Regions from separate parts of the Homo sapiens genome. Here all the other regions are linked to region 1. The links are contacts of gene promoters, found by promoter capture Hi-C in blood cells and fetal thymus (Javierre and others, 2016). All regions are on one chromosome and are shown on one strand. The core of a region is centred on a gene start or on the middle of the fragment in contact, and the rest is flanking DNA. Distances in the headings are between cores, read along the strand shown. Region 1 holds the start of RMDN1 (regulator of microtubule dynamics 1). Region 2 holds the start of RIPK2 (receptor interacting serine/threonine kinase 2). Region 3 overlaps PARAIL (palmitic acid regulated anti-inflammatory lncRNA).

What was found. The method cuts DNA at HindIII sites, captures the fragments that hold promoters and counts their contacts. A CHiCAGO score of 5 or more calls a contact.
Region 2: a fragment that was not itself captured here is called in contact with the fragment with the promoter of RMDN1 in region 1 in 1 of 17 cell types (total B cells); the score reaches 5.6 in total B cells.
Region 3: a fragment that was not itself captured here is called in contact with the fragment with the promoter of RMDN1 in region 1 in 1 of 17 cell types (total B cells); the score reaches 5.8 in total B cells.

Annotation. Positions count from the first base shown.
Region 1 is chr8:86,506,030-86,510,628 of GRCh38, reverse strand. RMDN1 (regulator of microtubule dynamics 1) reads left to right here and starts at 1,943. Exons shown (of 10, transcript NM_016033.3): 1 at 1,943-2,137; 2 at 3,517-3,634. The coding sequence starts at 2,009. It also overlaps the pseudogene SLC2A3P4. RefSeq lists an enhancer at 2,029-2,198. The HindIII fragment of the contact is 14,106 bases long and covers 1-3,399 here.
Region 2 is chr8:89,757,575-89,762,173 of GRCh38, reverse strand. It overlaps RIPK2 (receptor interacting serine/threonine kinase 2), which reads right to left and starts at 4,358. Exons shown (of 11, transcript NM_003821.6): 1 at 3,941-4,358. The coding sequence starts at 4,113. PARAIL (palmitic acid regulated anti-inflammatory lncRNA) reads left to right here and starts at 4,463. Exons shown (of 5, transcript NR_125822.1): 1 at 4,463-4,599. RefSeq lists enhancers at 2,515-2,604, 3,883-3,952 and a silencer at 4,493-4,599. The HindIII fragment of the contact is 1,505 bases long and covers 2,297-3,801 here.
Region 3 is chr8:89,721,985-89,726,583 of GRCh38, reverse strand. PARAIL (palmitic acid regulated anti-inflammatory lncRNA) reads left to right here. Exons shown (of 5, transcript NR_125822.1): 2 at 943-1,066; 3 at 1,618-1,955; 4 at 4,428-4,569. Among named protein-coding and RNA genes, the nearest start is that of PARAIL, 33 kb to the left of the region's middle. RefSeq lists enhancers at 476-575, 626-675, 706-755, 331-880. The HindIII fragment of the contact is 3,039 bases long and covers 883-3,921 here.

The DNA of each region.
Region 1 (4,599 bases), core at 694-3,193:
CATCATCTCTCTTGATGTTGCAGTCAGATATTGGCCAAGGCTGCAATCATCTGATGGCCTGACGGGCTGAAGGAGTTCTTCAGCCCAAAAGTTCAATTGTGCCAAGGCTGAGAAACCCTGCTTTAAACCGATGGGACTATACATTTAAAAAATACTAATGTCGTGAAAGACCAAGGCTGACGATTTAAAGATTTAAAGAAAGTAGAAACATAACAAATGCAAGACATTATCAAGATTTGATCTTGAATTTAGAAAAAAAAATCATTAGTATAAAGGACAGTATTGGGAATTAAACAAAATTTGTATATTAAATAATAGTATTCTGTCAATTTCAGTTTCCTGAATTTGATAATTAAACTGGGACTAAGTAAGGGAATGTCTTGTTTCTAAGACTGAAGAGTCATGATATCTGTAATCTACTCTCAAAAGGCCTTACAACAGAAAATACTAGGAATATAATATGTGTATTATAGGTAAGATATGTAAAGAAAGATAAAGCAAATGTGAGAAAAAGGTAACAATGGCTGAATCTAGCTGAAGAATATATGGGAGTTCCTGCAACTTTTCTTAGGATCTAATTTTTTTTTCAAAGCTAAAAACTTAATTACAAATTCACTCTAGCAGAGATATCAGAAACTTAATTTCACTGTTATCATGGTATCCAGTGGCATAAACATTTAGCAATGTTGAGGGGGTAGCTGCCAGTAGAAATGCATAAAATAAAAGTGATTCTGTCTTTGGGAAAAAACAGCTAGGTTTCAGAAGTTGGGAAGGAGATCTATATATTTTTAAAGATAGACTTTAAAGACATAATCCTAAAGAAATACAGCTGATTTAATGGGACTAGTGGAGGTAGCAATCATATAGTAGAAGGAGCACTGGACTCAGAGTAGAAAGACATGGATTCCTGTCTTCTAACATATCCTTGGTTAGGTTAATACATCTCTTTGAGTTACAGTTTTTTCATTTGTAAACCTGGGATACCACTTACTTCACAAGGTAGTTCGGAAGATCAATACGACTATGTATTAATTCCCTATACAGTATTAAAAGTACCATAGAAATGCAACCTAATTTTTTAAAACCATGACTCGCCTCCCTTATTACCCATAAGATTTTTCGTTAAACCCATATAGTAGGTACTCCCTTTGCAGTCTGTGTTTCCACCCACCCTGATCAGGCCTCAAGTAGGATCCAAAATTTCTTCATTTTCCCACAAAAGAATTCCACTCGAGCAAGAAATTTTATTTTACTCGAGTAAAATAAAATACTTTGCTCGAGTAAGTAAAACATCTTATTGAAGAATTTTAGGGGAGACCAGGGTTTGTTTTTGTTTCTGTTTTTTACTACACATGCCCTAGCATTCAAGGGCATCAGTATCCTTTCCAGAGGCCTCCTCCCGCTAGTTCCTCTTCCCAAAACGCTTTGCATTTTTTGTTTCTTTGCTCTGGACTCTCTCTTGAATCTACCCCCTTGAGTCGCTCAGTCGAAGAGACTGAGACTTTCCCTTCTTCATGTTGGGCAACATAATTCTTCCAATTATTTACTTCCAAAAAAGACCCACTAGTACCAAGATTCAATCTACTTTTGAAGGCAGCAGATAATTAAAATGACAATTTTTTTTCTGGCATACTTGTATTCTCGGGTCTATTTCCGAGCTTTCAGTTCTATTCTGGCGACGAATCCTTGTGCCCAAACCATGAAAGACCCCCTAGAGAGATGGAGCAGAAACAAGTCAGAGCGCCTGAAGAGAGCGCTCTCACGGCCTCAGTCCTGGACGCAGGCGCGGAAAGTCCATTAAGTCCCACCCAATCGGGGTATTTCCCACCCCCTAAGCCCGTGCACCGGAAACCATGGGGGCGGAAGAGGTGCTGGGCAGGAGGCGGAAGAGGTGCTGTGCAGGAGGCGGGCGGGCGCGGTTCTTTCCGGAAGGATTGAATCTCCTTTAGCCCCGCCCGCCTCCGTAGCTGCCTGAAGTAGTGCAGGGTCAGCCCGCAAGTTGCAGGTCATGGCGCTGGCTGCTCGACTGTGGCGCCTTCTGCCTTTCCGACGTGGAGCCGCCCCGGGGTCTCGTCTCCCTGCGGGGACTTCGGGCAGCCGCGGGCATTGCGGCCCCTGTCGATTCCGCGGCTTCGAGGTACCCCCGTGGTCCTGGCTCCCGCTCCTCACTTCCTACTCAGTGGGTTCCGGCTCCCCCTTAACTTAAGTGGTGGCGGCCCCGCGCTGCCTAAGGAATGTGGTGAACCGAGGAAAGAACTCGGGGCCACTGTGCCTGGAACGCCCGGACAGGTCCCTTCCATTTTGCAAACCTCCACTATCCTTAACTGGGGCTGTCAGAGAAGGAGTGGGGTTTGCCCCCACGCGCCCCAGAAGCTGCCTGCTACCCGCCCTTCTTGTGCGAAATGTAAAACAGGACGGGAAAGAACCTTGACCGCTGTGAAATTATTCTCCCTGTAGGCGATGACAGATACAACAGCGCTTGAGGCTGCCCCTTTCAGACTTTGAAAAGTGTGGTGTGTGATTTAAAAAGTTCTACGACTCAGAAGCAGAGATTTCATACTGTTTAGGTTTTTGTTTAAAAATGTTTATTTCTCAGTTGCCCGTTGTATCTGCATAACGTCAATGAAGGTTGTCGGCATGTTGTAGTCTCAGTTCTGGTATTTCTATTAGACTGCTCGTGGGCCTCTGTTTATTCTTGTCAGGGAATTGGAATGGCATTAATGCATATGATATATTTCACATGAACTAGGGGTTTCATTATTTTAAACTCAAATTTTTAACTGCTCAGTTAAAATCTTTCAGAATTATTATGGGACTGATGGTGGGGAGGGGTGGTTAAAATTTGGCATATTCCCCTTCCTTGGAAGTTTATAACCAAATGGGGAGGTTATAGATAATATAGGCAGAGAGATGGGAGGAGTTCTAAGTATGAAACTAGTTAGCCGTAAGTTTTCAAATTGGAACAATGATGAGTTTGAAGTCCCATTTTAGGCCTGGCCCCTTGGCTCAGCCTGTAATCCCAGCACTTTGGGAAGCCGAGGCGGAAGGATTGCTTGAGTCCAGGGGTTTGAAACCAGCCTGGGCAACACAGTGAGACCCTGTCTCTACAAAAAAATTTAAAAGTTAGCCATGTACATTTTTATATGTAGTAATTACTATATATGATAATCTTGTCTGTAAGATTCATTTTTATTATGTGTTGGTGTCTCATATTTTACTTCATACAATTTGCAATATCCATGCATTTGCAAATAAGTTGTAGCAAATAAGTTGTAGCTCTTCCTTTCCAGCAGGAGTGTGATTTTTAGATGAGCGGCGACTCCAGGGGATATCTTTTTCTCAATAAGATACGCTTTGAGATAGTTTTACTAAAGATTTTGATGAAGTAATTTTTAAGCTTCCAGTATTATGATCGATTGCTTTGGGGGTGGGAGAAAATTCATGTAATTTTTGCTTGGGGTAGCAGTACCTTCAAATTTTCAAAGTTTGTAACTCTTAACATAATTGTTTCCATAGGTAATGGGAAACCCAGGAACTTTCAAAAGAGGCCTTTTACTCTCAGCTTTGTCGTATTTGGGTTTTGAAACTTACCAGGTTATCTCTCAGGCTGCTGTGGTTCATGCCACAGCCAAAGGTAAGCATAAATTAGATATATGGAACATTTAGAGTTTTTTTGTGTGCGTACATTCAGAATTTTTATTTTAAAACAAAGAATCAGGGTAATGTTAATAATAGAAAATCCATATGGAAATATTCACAATCTGCTCAGTGAGAAATGGGAAAACAACTTCCCTGCCTAACTGCCAACCTACTGTTTGAGGAGCCAGAAGTTGACGTGAAGTTGGAAGAAGGTCACCTTTTCCAGCTAAACCCCACTCCATAGCTATGTGCATTTTTATTTGAAGTCTCCGTGACCAGAGGAAACAGTGAGAACTGAGAACCAAGATACCGTTATCAGCAAGGGTTTGGCTAAAGGGTCTGAGATGTGTAAGCACCAAGAAGGGGAAGGGAAATTGAGCAACATATGAAAAAGGGGCTGTAGGAACACAGAAAAAATAAGTCAACAATAACCTATTTCCATCCAGAGCAAAGGGACAGTGCACACATATTCATCCTCTCAAGTGTGGGCTACACTGTACATTGACTCATACTATCTCGAACATGGTCTGTTGGAAAGATTGAGACCCCCTAAGGGCACTTGGCATAGGACCACAGTGACATGGTAACAGACATAGACAAGCATGGCATGACCCTAAAGGCAACAACACACCTTTAGATAATAATCGTTCAGAAAAAAATCCCAGAGCTGAGGTTATAAATTCCAAGTTAGCTATAAACATTCTTTGGGGAATTCCTTTAAAGATATGAGTTAAAATAAAACAAAATCAACACCTAAAATCTCCTAAAGCACAAAATGGAGAAATAATGAATCTCTACCAAGAACTGATTATTTTAAGTTTCTCATTTGGATGGCTCTCCCACCAGATAGGTGGTGGGATTACTTCAAAAGTAATGAGTCTCCTACAAGGAGGAGTTGTTTGGTCCAGTGAGGGGGAACAAGCTTTCTAGAAATAACTTTCCCTTCCCTTGACTCCATTC
Region 2 (4,599 bases), core at 1,800-4,299, 3.3 Mb before region 1:
CTTTGTCACCCTGGCTAGAGTGCAGTGGTGTGATCACAGCTCACTATAGCCTCAAACTCCTGGATTCAAGCCATCCTCCCACCTTAGCCTCCCCAGCAGCCAGCTAGCTCCACAGGCATGCAACCGTGCCTATTTTTTTTTTGTAGAGACAAGGTCTCACTATGTTATTCAGGGTGGCCTCAAACTCCTGGGCTCAATTGTATCAGACGTCCAATAGGTAGGTATCAAATGATTTCAAGGAAATTAAAGGGAAGGCTAAAGTTGGGAAATTGTGAATTGTTTAATGCACTCCTTTTATGTAATATAAAAGGAGTGAAGGTGAATAAGACAGGTTAGGGACATATCTCAGTCTTAAAGCCTGGTTAGGGTGGTGAAACTTCACTTAGCAGTCACTAAGTGATTGACGGTTTGTTTGCTTTTTTTAACATACAGAATACACACTGGAAACTTTTTTTTTTTTTAACAGACCAGATCTTGCTATGTCGCCCAGACTGGCCCTCCCTACTCTGCCTCTTGAGTAGCTGGGACTACAGGGGTGTGCCAATGTACCTGGTGTGACTGAAAGTTTTTGAGTTGGGGAATGACAGTAGAATACAATTTTAAGATGATCAATTTGGCAACAAGATGTAGGATTAGTAGAAAGTGGTAGAGTTTGAAAGTCAGGTGTTAGGAGATTTTAATACCAGTTAATACATGAACCTAAAACTACAAAGGTAGCAGTGGAAATGGAAAGAAAAACACTAAGTGAATAGAATGCCCGCGTTGTAGTGACTGACTGTAGGGGGTTAAAAAAAAAATGAAAAGGAATTGGAGATGTCATTATTTTTTTACCCTGAGTGACTGGATGTTGGCTGCAGCAATGACAGAAATAGAAATGTTTCCAGGAGAAGCCTATTAGGTAAGTAATGATGATAAGTTAGTTCTTACACCTCCCAAGCTCTGAATGAATGGCTGTTGAAATATGAATAGCAACAGACATTCTAGACCAGACTAAGAGGACTACTTTTAAAAACAAACAAAAAAACAAAGCAAAAGAATCTTCGTCATTTATTTTTTGAATAGGTCATATATTTATATGTCTTAAAATTCAAGAGTAACAAGAAGGCATAAAGTGAAAAGCTTCTCTCATTCTCTGTCCTTCAATCACTTAATACTCCAACTGCTAGGAAACCAGTATCAGTTTGTGAGACCCATTTTAATTAAATGTTTATTCCCTAGATGGAAATAGTTCCATATCTGCCCCAAGAGATTTAGGCCAACAATAGAGGATGACCCTGAAGATTCCTGGATACTAAGAACAATAGAGAGTGCATGCTGCAGAAGTCTCAGTGACACTTCACACACTCTTTCCTCCTCCCATTAAGAGGCATTCTTCTTTCCACTGTGACCCTATTACATGTCAGTCACTTTATATGCACTAGCATCTTAAGATCACCCTCTAAACATAGTTTCATTAGCTCCACTTTATAAATGAGGGCACTAAGGCTCAGAAAAATTAATACTTTTCTAATGGTCACACTAATAAGTGGCAGGGTTGGCGTCAGATTTGAATTGCAATCATGGGACATTAAAGCCTGCATTCTTTCTACCCTATTGCTTGATCAAAGAATATAGTAGGAAAGTTCTTGAAGGTAGATTTTTGGCAAGATTGAGTGAGTGGGAAATTTTTTTTAAAGCCAAAAGATTTTAAAAATTGATTTTTACATTTTGAAAATAAAGGTGTAAAGTACAGCTTCCATAGTCACATCACCAAAATTAACTCAAAAATTTAATCAGAAAAGTTATGTCATCTACAGGGTATTTGAACAACCAATTGGACTCATTACTCATAAGGGGTGGGAAGATTGTTGGGGAAGGTCCACTCATCGGATAGAAGTCAGGTTATGGAGACTGATTCACCAGTCATTAAAATAAGAGCATGTAACATTGCATAAACTTATTTTTTTTCAGGTCATCCCAAAGAACAATGCAAACATTGTTCTCCATAGTCCGAGAAACACATGTATTTATTATTCGTATTTTATAAGTGAGGAAAGAGACACCAGTGAGTCAACTGCATAGCCTCATCTAATGCTCAGACTACATAAATACTGCAATGATAAGATCTTAAGTAACAAATTGGAGAAAAGAATGTGATGCAGTAAATGCCAGAGTGTTTCGCTGGTCTTATGGCTTCCTCGAAGACAGAATTAATTTCCTACCCAATTCAGTGAAGAATTTTAGACTATGAAAATTGTTCATGAGTATGGGAAGGAAACTCCCTCTTCACTTCTTGGTCCCCAAACTGCACAAAGCTTAGATAAATCAAAATCCTGAGAAGCAGCACCCAAAGTGGGAGGATCAATTGGCTTTTCAATACCTAATGGGTCCATCAGTGCTACATTTCCATATAGTGTTTGCATAACTGGTTCTAACATATATCCACCCTCTCTAACCAACCACCACCCTTAAAAGTTGACTACAGACACATATACACACTTGTCCAGCACTTGCTCCACAGAATATAAGGCCTGGAGTAAACAGACACCACACCTTGTATATCACTGAATCTGGATTATGATAGACAAGAAGTGGAAACAAGCTCTAGAAGTGTCCCAAATCTCCTGTGCCATTTAGGCCATCGAAGCCTGACAGTGAGAGACAATGAAGAAAAGCCACAGGCAGGTGAAAATCCAGTAACTTTGGCAGGGCGGAAGCTGAGGAATTTATCTGATGCTGGATACTCACAGCTTCTGGCCAATCAGGCATCGGGGATGACGTATTTTCACATTAGATATAGGAGGAGGAGAAGAGAATGTTGTAATCATGGATGTTAACTCACTAAGAACTGAATGCTGGGCCTAGTTAAATCCCTGTAGGAAGTAAAATACACAAGACTAGTGACCCATTGACTAATACACAGTCACAGGTCTATGGCACGCGGTTGTAATGTTCTTCTGAAAACAGAAACTAATGCTAACCTTCCCTTAAAACCTGTACAAACCAATAAGTGAAAGCCATTTACAATTTCTGGCCATTTAACAGTCTTTTGGTTCAATTTATTGTGGCAAAAATAGCACACATTTCCTCTACTTAATCTTCCCTGTGAGAGAAACTGAGACTGGGAGAAACTGAACTGCTAGTATTGAGTTTGATATAAAACGTTCCTGACAACACATAATAAACCAAAACCAAAATAAAAACAATAAGAAGCAAAACATCCTTGATTCTAAAGCAGTGCGGTCCAATAAACATATAATGTGAACACCACCACATACAATTTAAAATTTTCTCGTGGCCACATAAAGTAAAAAGAAACACATAAAATGAATTTTAATCTTATATTTAACCCAAGATATCAAAAATGTTATTTCAGCATATAATCAATAAACAAATAATAAAATATTATAAGTTCTTTTTTTAATAAATACTAAGCATTCGAACTCTGGTATTTTACACTTAGGTCACACTTCAATTCGGACGGGCACATTTCAAGTGCTCAATAGCCACCTGTGGCTAAGAGCTACCTACTGGACAGTGCAGCCCTACAGCCCAATTTCAAAAATAAGGAAAAAACAAAGCAAACAAAACCCACACCCACTATATATAAACACACATCAATTTCAGTAAACCCAGCGTTTAGAGTTAGGCAGTGATTGCTGATTTTTGGAGTACGGAGCCAGAACGCCTAGGAGTAAGAGGGAAGGAGAGAAAGGGTAATGGAGAGATGTGTGGAGGAATGCAACTGCTGCATCTCCAGAGAAGCCTGTGCTCCCTACGGTGCCAGAGCTTGAAGGGTGGGTGCTCCCTATCTCCCAAGCTTGAAGGGCTCCCTAGAGGTGACGAGGTGAGGCCGGCCCCAAGCGGTCACTGCCATTTGGGCTCTAGAGCCCGCTTGTCAGGGGGCTTGAGGGGATGCAGGAGTTGAGGGCTCTTCCAGGGAACCCCAGTGACTGCCTACCTGTCGAGCAGCGGAGTGTGGATGTGCAGGTGCTTCACGGCCACCTGGACGCGCCAGTCTGCGTGGCGGGCGGACGACACAGTGCCAGAGGCGCCGCGGCTCAGGTAGCGCAGGTCGGCGAGTTTGTGGTAGGGAATGGTGGGCAGGGCGCTGCAGATGGCCTCCCCGTTCATGGTCCCGGGCGCTCAGGCCGGTTCCGGGTGTGCCCCCTGCTGCGGCGGCTCCCAAGGCTCCCACGCCGCGCTCAGGCGCCCAGATACGCCCCTGCACGAGCGAGGCCGGCAAGACCCTTTTTGCCCCGCAACACTAGGTCACGAGGGCGCCCATTCCCCGGATGGCCCACGCCAGCCGCTGCTTCTCCGAACCAGAGCTGACTTCTTTTCTAGAGACTGGTGCCAACGCCGTAGCGCCGCGAAAGAGCTTCCTCTCTCGCAGCCCCGGCCCTCCCCCCGGCGCGCGCAGCGACCAGCTCCGGCCGCCCGAGCTCCTCCCTCCCCAAACTTCGCAGGTTACGTCAGCGGCGGACGGCAAGGCGGGGAGAGGGGCAGCCCGCTCGCGGCCCTCCCGCCTGGCTCTCGCCTCGGCCTGCGGCCGGGATCCTCCGCCCGGGTCGCGCAGCGGAGGCCGAGGGCTGGGACGGGCGGCTGGGAAGTGGGAAA
Region 3 (4,599 bases), core at 1,153-3,652, 3.2 Mb before region 1:
CTCTTTCCCTAAACCTCAAAACATTTAGAGAATTCTAAGGGTCTTCTTTTGCCTCAGTTACCACTCATAGCACTAATGCAATGGGTTGGCTGCTTTGGCATTATGGGATGCTTGTTTTGACTATTGAGGTTTTGAATATTACAAATATAGTGAAACAATAGTGAAGCACAGATTGCCCAGAAAGGGTAAAGTTTCAACATCTTCCCACAAAAACAATGATTGAGTCTTTTCATTAGTTAGCTCCTAAAAAATCAGCATAAAACTAGATAATAATAGGATACCTGCTGATCTGTGAGATAAAAACATTCTTTTAAATTGCATGCCAATTTGAAAAGATAAATATTGATGCCAATGTACTGGTGATGAAGTGGGGGCCTGGGGTGTGGGGATGAGACCAGCTGGCAGACATTGGCTAAGCCAGACCCTGGGCTGAGTTGGATTGCATAGGCCTTGTGACTCTATTATTAAACACAGATCCTGAGGGTGAATGACAGCATCTGTGAGATTTTTGAGTCAGTTCTGAAGTAGGTTCTCAGCCAAGTTAGGCAGACATAGAAAAGTAATTATAAAATGCCTAGGCACCAGCCCCACCTAGAGTTGATGCTTAGAATGAGGTAGATAGTAGCAGAAGGAGCAGTTTTTTAAGCCAGTGAGCTTTACAGTGGGGGAAGGGGCAGAATGGGGAAGTCCTTTATTCTGAGCTCTTAAGCATGCCAGGAGCAGATGCCTGATTTTACTGTGTGGCACTTTGTGGCCCAGAAACTTTCCAGATTCTGTATTTTCCTATCTGGTTAAATGTAACTGTATTTACCTGTGTTTCAAAGCCTGAATGCTTTATTTATTCTCTACTTAATTTTCTTTTCCAGTTTTTCCTAACAAGCTTCCCTAGATTTACTTGTTCTCACTTCCTAGACGCTATTTGTATTCTTCCTTCTTCTCTAGTTCATTGGAAATTTCTGCTTCTTTGAGACTGAGGTTATATTCCACTTCTTCTGACTACACCACCACCATCAATCTCCTTCTCTGAACTCTTGGATCATTACTTCAACCTGAAACAACTCATCAGGTATCTATAAAGGTGGTTATTTGAGTTCCTGTTTTTAGGATTCCAAAATGATGCCAAGATATGTAAAATGAAATGTTAATTGCATTTTTTTTGAGGGGGTTAGAACTATGTAAGTCCCAAAAGAGACAAAGAGTTTAGCTCAAAGCTATCAGATGTTGGAATCAGAAGTTTGGCTTAGGTTAATAAAATGTTTTGCTGTTTAATTTACAAAATTTTTCAAGATCAGGTCCCTGGAGGGAAAATAGCAAAAGGAATTCCTGATAGAGAAAAGTTGCAAACCACTAATTGTGTATAGATTTGGTATTTTGTTATGTGTAGTAAAGTGGTTGAGAGTATGATCTTTGAAGTCAGGCAGACCTGGGTTTGCCACTTTCTATCTGTATAACTCTGTACTTTGCATTATCTTTGGGAGTCTTGGTTTCTCACCTAGAAAGTGAGTCAAGGCAAATAATTTACTCAGCACAATGCCTGCCATATAGTAAATGTTCAGTGTTATCATTATTGTTGTTGCATCTTATTTGCTCTTTTTTGTGGTTTATGTCCTGTGTTAGGCAGAATAGTTGCCTACTGCCCCAACCCCACCAAATGTTCCAGCACCTCTGATATTACCTCACATGGCAAGAGGGCTTTGAAGATGTGATTGAGTCAAGGATCTTGAATGGGGAGATTATCCTGAATTATTCAGCTGGACCCAGTGTAATCACAAAGGTTTTTCAAAGATGGAAGAGAGGCAGAAGAGCCAGAAAAGGATATGTGACAATGGAGTCAGTGTCAGAGTTGGAGTGACGTGATGTGAGAAGGATTCAACCTGCTGTTTCTGGCTTTGAGGATGAAAGAAGGGGCCATGAGCCAAGCAATACAGGTGGCTTCTTTCAAGAAGTTGGAAAAGGTAAGGAAATGGGTTCTCACCTAGAACTGCTGGAAAGCAACCCAGCCCTACTGACACCATGATTTTAGCTCAGTGAGACTCTGTCCAGATTTCTGACCTCTAGAACTATAAGATAATAAATTTGCATTGTTTTAAGCCACTAAGTTTGTGGTAATTTGATAAAGCATCAACAAAAAATGAACACTTCTTCCCAGCAGGACTCCTTTTGAAGACCAGTTCTGTATACATCATCGTATCCAGTGTAAGTACTGGATGTAAATATGGATCAATAATTTGGAATTTACTGAGGTTTCCAGTGGTGAGGCACAATAACTTGTAATTTGCAATTTTTTGTAGTGGAGAAGAGATAACCATGAGTCAGCTCTCTTTCTGCATACACATTTCCATTGCAGCACAAGTTAAAGATACTGGAGAAATTCCCCATCTCACTACCAAGGACAGACCTAACTGACAATAAATTCATCTATAGCCCAGTCAGGGTTTTCCCCTCATTGTCCCTGCCTTCCACAATTGCAGCTAGTTTTCAAAAAGATACATAAAAATAGCTACCATGAATTTAGCACATGGTATGTGCCAGGAGTTATGCTAAATGCTCTGCGTATGTTATCTTACTTAATCCTCCAAAATTTTCCATGGTGGTAAAAATAAATGTTTCTTGTTTTCAAACTTCAGGTCATGACTCTCAGTGGATTTTGAAATCAATTTTGTAGGGAGTGATCAGTAGTTATTAAACAATAAAATAGAATATGAAATATCATTGCATTTCAGGAAGTAAGAGTAGGCATAGCTTCATCAAATTTTGGTTTCAATTATATATATATCTTATCATGTCTATAAAATAAACACATATGTGTATGTACTGGGTTGTGTTACAGAACATATTTCTTACAATGAGTCCTAGTAAAAATTACTTTTTTTTTTTTTTGAGACGGAGTTTTGCTCTTGTTGCCCAGGCTGGAGTGCATTGTGCGATCTCGGCTCACTGCAGCCTCCACCTCCCAGGTTCAAGCGATTCTCCTGCCTCAGCCTCCTGAGTAGCTGGAATTACAGACATGTGCCACCACGCCTAGATAATTTTTTTTTTTTTTTTTTTTGTAGAGACGGGATTTCTCCATGTTGGTCAGGCTGGTCTCGAACTCCTGACCTCAGGTGATCTGCCCACCCCAGCCTCCCAAAGTGCTGGGATTACATGTGTGAGCCACCACACCCAGCCCTTAAAAAATTACTTCTTGGAGTGGGTTGTATTTAAATTTTTTAAAAACCACCAATGAAGTGGTTAAGAATATAGGCTTTAGCAACAGGGCTACCTGAGTTTATTCTCAGTTCTTTATTTTACCAGCTCTGTGATCTTGAGTATATTACTTACTGTTTTTACCTCAGTTACCTCATTTATAGGATCCTATCTCATAGGGACTTTTGAGGAGTAAATGAATTCATTCAAGTTAAGCACTTTGAACAGTGCCTTAGTAATTAACAATTAGCTAATGTTACTTTCCCAATGTTATGTGGGTTAGTAAGTGGTAAAACCTACCAGATTCCCATTCTGTCTGACAAAGTCTAGTCTCTTAGCTACTGTGTGTCGCTGCCTGAGTGTGAAATCTAAAGCAATTTTACAGTAATTTATGTGGCCCCTCAAAACAAACAAATCAACAAAATTAAAAAGTCTCCCTTTATAATAAATGGTACCAGTACATGAAAATACTGGGGATGCCTTTTTCTCAGGGACTTGGCTGATTTGGCATAACCTTATCTCTGAGGGAAAACAAGTTTTGTGACTTGTTCCACTCTGAATTTCAAGAGAGGAATATGTGGAAGGTACTGAGTGCTTTTGACATATAGAGAACAAAGCGATGACTCACTTAAACCCTGATAGTAGGGGCACCATATAAATTATTATATCTAAAGGGAGTCAGGTCAAAGAAGAAATCTTGCAAGAATCTGGAGGGAGATCTGTTGTCTAAAAGCTTATTAGGTGACTAGGGTATCGGTTTTGCTAGTGTTTGTTTTTATCTTGTTTTTTCCCTTCCTCAGTTCCAGCAGGCATTTTAGTGATCTCTTGAAACACGTTTTGACTCTACTTGGTGATTGAAATACACAGCCAGGCTGTGTTGCTTTTATAAGCTCTGAAAGTTTAAGAATTTAGGAAGCTAATGACTGTCTTAAATTACAGTTAAATCTAATTGATAAAATCCTGGGACATTGAACGATTGATTTTAGTATTCAGCTAATAACCCATTTAAAATGAATTCCATACTTCTTTCAACTTGCTTGACTGAAGAGTAATTTTGTCGCTAGTTACTGTATTACTGGAAAATGTATTCCTAGGCTTTAAGATTTGGGAAGCGTGTGAGTCTAACTTCTCAAACAGAATTTGACAAGGACGTAGCAGTGTTTTAAAAAGTCAGGGAAAGGAAAGAGGTGTGTTCAGCATTCCTGCCCCATCTTAACATATTCTTTTTCTCGTCTTAACAGTGGTAATATTTTATGTTATTTTGGTTTGATTTTTGTTTGTGGCATATGGCTCTGCTGTCCTGTGACTCTAAGTAGAAGAGAAAATAGTGCCAATAATTCTTCATGGAGATGCACCTCTCTCAAGTCTTGAACAATGTTTGAGGTAGGTGGTGGCCTAAATGAATGAGCATGT